Regions from separate parts of the Homo sapiens genome. Here region 2 is linked to region 1. The links are contacts of gene promoters, found by promoter capture Hi-C in human tissues and cell types (Jung and others, 2019). All regions are on one chromosome and are shown on one strand. Each heading gives the region's core, a stretch centred on a gene start or on the middle of the fragment in contact. The rest is flanking DNA. Distances are from core to core; before and after follow the strand shown.

Region 1 (3,710 bases), core at 326-2,825:
GGGCCATGTGTGAAGTGGGGAAAATCATTGCCTTGCATGTCAGGGTTTCCCATTGAACAATCTTGTCATGGCTCCCACAGGCTTGGCATTGCTATCCTGGCTAAACAACACCATCTAGAAGGCCTTGGTTACCTCCCAAAGGGCAGGGCCACCTGGGTCTGAGAGGCTCGTCCAAGGAAGAACAGAGCCTGCCAGTCCTCACTCCAATCCTCCTTCCCAGTGACAGCAACAGCAGCGGCTCTGGCTCATGAATACCCACCTTGCTGCAGGCTCTGCTGGGTGCCTCAGGCACCCTGAGTTCTCTTCACCAGCCAGTGCTACAGGTGGTATTTGGATGTGGTCGCCATTTTACTAGGGGAGCTGGTGGTTCAGGGAGGGGCAGGGCCTCCCAAGCTCACAAGTCTGGTAGGTGGAATCTGGACCCAGGGCTCCTGGCCCCCCTACCACACCATGGTGTCTCAGGTTTCCTAAGGTAATAAGTACCTTTCCAGAGTCCTGGGAAAGGGTTAAGTTGCCAGCATCAAAAATTAATTAACCTGTAGGATAAAGGGAGTCAATTGACTCCAGAGAAAGCAAGCAGTGTCCCCGGACATTGGGTATATCACCCAAGGAAAGCGTAAGCGAAAGTGGAAGGAGTGGGGAAGTAGAGGAGAGGGAGAGAGGAAGGAAGGAGGAGAAGAAGAAAGAAAGACAAAGAGAGGGAGGGATGATGAGGATGGGAGAGAGAAGGAAGGAAGGAAAAAAGTAAGGAAGGGAAAGGAAGAAAGAAACAAAGAAAAAGAGAAAGGAAGAAGAAAGAAAAGACAGAAAGAAGAAAGAAAAAGGAAGAAAGAAAAAGGAAGAAAGAAAAAGAAAGAAAGAAAGAGAGAAAGAAAGAAAAGAAAGAAAGAAGAAAAGGAAAGAGAGAGAAAGGAGCTGGGCTTTGCTGGTGAAAAGGAGTAGCTGTATAAGGTTACTTCATCTTTCTTTGTTCATCACCTCTACATGGGGAGTAATAGTCCCTCTTCATAAAGATTATGAAGTGAAACCATGTGCTTATAGTGCCTGATACAGGCATTCAATAAATAGCAATAAAAATCATAATGGCTAACCCTTATCTGGAACGTATAATGAGCCAGATACTACATTAAGAGCTTTCCATTTGCCAACTCCTGTAGTCCCCCCAGCAACCCTGGAGGGAACCATTGTTATCACCCCTGTTTTAAGATGACGGCAGGAGGTACAGAGAGTTGAAGTGGTTATTGTTCCAAGCCAGCTTCTACATTCCCCCTAAGGGCCAACTTTAAGTTCCTTGAGTCTCTTAAAGTCTGCAGACAGGAGAGAGGGTGTGAGGGGTGTCTGGGATCCTCCTCCCAGGAAAGGGGCTCACCTTCACAATGACATCCATGGCATTCTTGTCTTCCTGCTTGCTTTCCCCAAAGGACCTGACGTTGAAGGAGCAGATCCTCATGGCCAGGGCGCTGTGGATGGAGAGGAGGAGAAGCAGCAGTGGGGCCAGCTCCCGTGACATCCTGGCGCTGCTCTGGCTTCAAGACTCTGTGAGAAGACAGCAGTGCTTGGAGTGCTGGATTCTGGCCACTTCCGCAGGCTCCACTGACTTATAAAGCCTGCAGATAACAGGAATTACTGGATTTCTCCTTGCAACTTTCAGTTCTCTGAGGAACTGAAGATCATGGGTTTTAATCCCCAAGGAAATACAGATACATTGGGCTAGCCTTTAAGGAGCCCTTATGTTCGTCACCCTGGTGCAGAAATTGGCATGCCTCATTTAGGCGCCATCCTCCACAAAGTCACTCATATCCCAACCGGGAGCCAGCTCTGACATCTAGTCATCGGTCTTGCGGTTGCATGCCATGTGCCTTTTCCTGACAGTGGATGAACTCGGAAGTGGTCCACCCTAGAGGGCACCTGGGGTGACGGAACCTTCTGCTGGGGGACAATGAGGCAGGAGGCATGGGAAATTCTGCTCGGTTTTCTCTAAATCACTGGGATTTGGCGGCCTGCTGTCCTCAGACACACCCAGACTGTGACTCTAATTGCCCTGGTGGTGTAAAGTAAGGTCAAGAGTAGTTTGAATTACTTAATTTTTTTAGGCAGCTTTACCGTACAAATACTAGGAGTGTGTTGCCAGAGAAAGCAATTGGGGATCTGATGGAATGGATGAGGAAAATGTCCCTGGACTCTGCGAGCAAATAGCCCGTGAAACCCATGGAGAGACCCGTGATTGAAGCTGATATTAATTTAATATTGGCGAGAGTTGTGTGACCCTGGGAGAGAAAGGTCTTGTAAGAACTGTAGGATATCAACTCAAGCAAAATGACTTTTAGAGATATGGGCAGGAAACTATGAAGATCTGTAAAGCAAAAAAAAATTAAAAAAAAAAGCAAAATCCAATCAAGGTATATTAATGGACTTTGGCAAAGACAATTCTGTGAAAAGGGTAGGGAATAAGAATAACTCCAAGCCAGCATCGGGATCTGTGGACCAACCCCTCTTGTGGTGATGGGTCTGTGGCCACAGCCACAGGGAAAATTATACATATATCCCCAACATACATCCAGGCAGCATACTGGCCAAGCATGCCAGGAATTCTATAAGATAACCCCAAATAGTACATGGAAGGAAATGGTTTCCTGAGTTCGTGCTGCAATGAATCTCCCTGTTGTCTGCAACCTAAGACCTCAGGCCTGGTTGAATCTCTGGTAAAGGTGGCTCTGGGCCGGGCGCAGTGGCTCACTCCTGTAGCCCCAGCACTTTGGGAGGCTGAGGTGGGTGGATCACTTGAGGTCAGGAGTTCAAGGCCAGCCTGGCCAACATGGTGAAACCCTGTCTCTACTAAAAATACAAAAATTAGCCAGGCGTGGTGGTGGGCGCCTATAATCCCAGCTACTTGGGAGGCTGAGGCAGGAGAATGGCTTGAACTTGGGAGGCAGAGGCTGCAGTGAGCCAAGATTGCACCACTGCACTCCAGCCTGGGCAACAGAGTGAGATTCCATCTCAATAAAATACAAAAACAAAAAAAAAGGAGCTCTAGGGAATGGTTAATTGTCTTTCTTGGTGAATGGGCATCTTCCAACCAGAAAAAAGATTTAGAATTAAAGTGTAGAAATGTTTAAGAGACTCAGAGCCATGGTATACTCTTTTTGTGTGTTTTAAGATGGAATATGCGGTATTTCATGGACTTAATGAGAGCTGCTGGGCCAACTATATAGAAAATCTTGTAACTCTCTTATAAAATGTGCACTTGGTAGGGTTTGATTCAGGTTCATGACTTTACGTTGAAACCTTTGTCTGAATACAGTTCTGGAACATTTATAAACACTTTAGGTTATCATCAATGTTTTGTTTGTTTACTTTATTAGAATTCAAATGATTTAGTATTTTTTAAAAGTAGCTTTTTTGTTAGTTCAGACAATTGAAGAACTTTTAAAAGAAAATAGGGCATATTAAATAAAGTATAAAATGTTTATAAATTGGCCACAAACCCCTTATAAGTAATTATTTAGGTTTGTTGGGTTTAGGATTGGCAGATTTAACAAATAAAAATATAGAACAGTAGGTAGATTTGAATTTGGGGTAGTTCGTATTCAATTGGGCAACTTTTATTTTATCTGGAAATTCTAGCTGGATTTATAAAAAGAATGAGAACTTTTGTAAGCTGAACTTAAAAGCATGGCATTTTCTTTTTTTTTTTCTTTTAACAAAGTTTT
Region 2 (3,720 bases), core at 265-2,764, 280 kb after region 1:
GTGTTACTCTTATAGGCCAATTTTTGCCTTTGTGTTGTGCCTAAATGGTGTAATTACCCCGTTTTGGGAAGGTGGTATTATCCCGTTTTATCTTGCGGAAACTGAGGGTTAAGAGGAATGTTATGATTTTGTGACTATTTGTGACAGCTTTTTAATATTAGGTCACTTTTAAACCTATAGCTTCTCTCTTCTAGACCACATGGTTGAGAAAGGAGAAAGAGAAAATGATTACTTGTAGAGAAAAATCCATTTCTGCAGTGGTATGGTTAAGGATAATCTAACCATAATCACATTATCCTTGTATGCCTGGCTACTTATGCTGGCCTGTATGTGAATGTTAACCCCAAAGACTCCTTTAGATGTCGCTGAACTAGTTACTATAAAAAGTATTTCGCTTTCAAACTCCCACATTTCAAGAAGAGCAAAACTCAATACAAGGCAATTTTGAAGGTAAGTATAGAAAGAGGGAGTTTATTGAGTCTTTTCTGACTACCAGACACGAAGGTTTCAGTAAAAAAGCATTTTTAAAGGGCTGCCTGGAAACTCTGGGAAGTCAGTAGTTGGAGTTTTTTATTATTCGTTGGAGGTTTTTATTGCAACATATAGGTAGTTATATAGGATTAGGACTTTTGCCCCGGAGAATTCTTAATCTATAGCAGGAATGATAAACCCAGAATATTTTTGTTAAGTTAGTTCATCATAACCATTAGGCCTGTAATTGCAATTCTGCAGTGATAGGGAGAATGGCATTTAAGGGTTCTTAGGTTATTTTTTTAAGTTATTAACTTACTGAATTATGTATGCATTTCTTCAGATATGCTACTTTAGAAAATTAATACTTCCTTTTAAGGTTTCTATAAATTCTTCAGTATGTGTTTTCTTAAGCTTAATTACCTGCTAACATGACACTGTCAGAATTTATACATTAGTCACAATAACCTTTGAAGCTTAAACATGGTTGAATTTTCAGCACTGCTTTATATTCTTTGGGGAGTGGGCAGTGTTGTTTTCACAAGAATTTTATTTGCATCAAAGGTTACATCTTTTCAGGTGAACTGATTTTTCAGGGTCAGAGGCTTCTTTGAATTTTATAGCTGTTTGTGCTCGGTTGCATTTGCTGTCTTTCAAAACCATCTTTAGTTTTAGTAAGGAAAGTCACTATAAAGGAAAAATTTTTTATTGTTACCATTCCTGGTAGATTTTCTGAAATATTAGATATTTCTTTGCTTTCATCAAGTAAAATAGGCCTATTTGATACCCATTTCAAGATCTTCCTTCTGCTGCCTGTCTTGTGGTCATTTAACTTCTCATTAAGCCCTCCACTGGAGACTGTGCCAGAAGGGAGAGAAGATGAAAAGCAAATGAATCATTTTCTAATTGTTAGTAGCTCTGGAAAATGATTCAGTAGAAGAGATTGAAACTATTCTGGAAATTCTTTGGGATTGTATTTCATTCATCTGCATCGTTTCAGAGATGTTCCTAATGGTCGTCAATTCAGAATTCAGAAGCCGATCATTATCCAGCTATTGGATAACAGGGAATTTTTCATGCTTTTTTTTTGTTTGTTTGTTTCTTGCTGTATTTAAGCATCTCCACAGAAGATATTTAGAAGCAGGTAGAGATAAAATTTAAACTAATCAATACTGTTTTTTCCCTTTGAACTCTTTAATGCACAATTTGATTTCTTTAGACAGTTTACTCATTGTTATTGGAAGTGACTAATAGTAACTTTGCTTCAATTTATTTTGATGTATCTTATACACAAGTATAGGAAGGCTTTTGGGTGGTTTTTAAGAAACATGGGCTGTAGATTCCCATAATTGCTTTCCTGAATTATTAAGCGTGAGCTTTCATTACATCTTTGTACCGGAACTTTTGCTTTTGCTGTGGAACAGATTCAGGGACATCGTCTAATTTTTTTTTTTTTTTTTTTAGATAACTGCTCAAGAAGTTACCTTGTTTTGATTTAGCAGTAAAAAAGAAAAAAAGGGTTAATAGTGGACAGACTTTTCGTTAACGGCTGCAACATTGATGTCTGCTTTTTTCCTTGTCTTTGATCTTCTGTTTCTCATTTAATCATTTGGATATTCACGGATTGGAGTTCTTTATGTCACTACAGACAGGACAGCAACCGTTATTCACACTAGTTGAATGGGTTCCTGCCTTTTTTTGGTGGGGGGGCCTCAGGAGAATTTTTACAAACCCATTATGACTGTTTAGTTAGGCTGAGTTACTGTAAAATTTGTAAATAAAACCCTACTGGATGGATAGGGTTAATAGATGGCTATAGAGAGTTTAAAGTTAAGCTTTTTCAATTTCTTGTCTCTTGGATTCTGTTCTTTCAATTTCTACCCTAGGAGGGGATTTATGGAAAAATCTAGACTAAGAGTCAGAACATGCAAGTTCTTATCTAGTTACTTCCCAGCTGTGGCGCCCTCAGCTAGTCACTTAATCTGCCTTGTTTCTCTGTTTTGCATCTTTAAGATGAGGATAGTAATCCCTGCTCGGCCTACTGGTATCAGGAATGTTGTAGGGGGAAAAAAAGTCTTTCATGCCCCTGTCTATTAAATTGTTTCTTCCTTCTAGAATCCCTTCTCAGGTTGTCCGAATTTTCTTTCAAGGATTCAACTGAATGGGCTCTTCCCAGAAGTCCTCTATTTCCCATTTGAAATCTTGCTTTTCCCCTCTCACGGGCCTCTGCTGGTCCATCTGTTATACAGCACTTTGAATTCTGTTCTGTACTTCAGTCATTGCATGTTGCCTTCCATTATAGATGGAAAGCTCCATGAGGGCAAAGATTGTCTTTTTCCTCTTTCTGTGTGTCCGCATTGCACATAGGCACCCCCTCCACTCCATAGGTGACCCACAATAATTGTTGGCTGAATGAATGATTATTGAGGCTGTCAGAATGAATACTTTGGGTGATGGGAAAATGCCAAAGATGAGCATCTTACCAGAACTTTTGGATGAGTGGCCTTTTAAATTGCTCAGTTACTAATCTGTTGTTATCAGTAACTGAATCAGATCCTGGCAAGACAAATTGGCAAAGCCCATTTCTTGGTCCTGTTTACTTCGGATACTATTTGTGAAGCAAGTCAGAGGAATGAAAGACTGTCATAACAGTCTTGAATTTGACATTTGTTCCATTTCTCACCCCATAGCATGTGGAGGCCTGTCTATATCCAACTGCTGAGTGTAAAGAATAAAAACTGACTGCCCCATAGTCTGGTCCACATTTTAGTTGTGTGCTTTGAAGGATTTGCAAGGTAGAGAAATAGATGCTTCAGGCTCTGATTTCAGCCCATGCTGTGCTATGCAAATGTTCTCTACATGCCTGAGTGACCTTTTGAGAAAGAGCCTTTGTGATCTTCTGTAGCTAGGGCTTGTTCTGGGAATTCTGTGCCAGATTCCTCTAAAAGTGGGAAAAGTGAATCTGTTAAAGGACCACGTAAAAAAGCCAGTGCTTTTCCTGGATGAATACCAATAAGTCCATGTTTCTTACCATGTCTTGCCAGAGCTTTAGAAATTTGCTCTGCAGTTTGCTTTACAGGTTGATTTGGGATTGAAGTGTGTGAGAGGGAACTGACTAAGGCAGTTCAGTAGCTGGGAAACTGTTTGTTTAAATGCTTTTGAATTGTAGATAAAAATAAATTCACATTGGCATCATTAGTATCTGAGCATTTCTCAGTGTCTTAAGGCTGGCTCTCCATGAGTGCTGGC

What was found. Contacts are between HindIII fragments. The study calls those that stand out against the background at their distance.
Region 2: a contact is called between a fragment that was not itself captured here and the fragment with the promoter of DNASE1L3 in region 1, in 2 of the 25 tissues and cell types used here (H1 embryonic stem cells and liver).

The regions. Positions count from the first base shown.
Region 1 is chr3:58,209,397-58,213,106 of GRCh38, forward strand. DNASE1L3 (deoxyribonuclease 1L3) reads right to left here and starts at 1,576. Exons shown (of 8, transcript NM_004944.4): 1 at 1,370-1,576. The coding sequence starts at 1,510. It overlaps LOC107986091 (a long non-coding RNA gene), which reads right to left. Exons shown (of 3, transcript XR_007095932.1): 3 at 3,613-3,710. The HindIII fragment of the contact is 9,412 bases long and covers 625-3,710 here.
Region 2 is chr3:58,493,959-58,497,678 of GRCh38, forward strand. All of the region lies in intron 1 of KCTD6 (potassium channel tetramerization domain containing 6), which reads left to right. Among named protein-coding and RNA genes, the nearest start is that of KCTD6, 3.7 kb to the left of the region's middle. The HindIII fragment of the contact is 5,212 bases long and covers 1-3,720 here.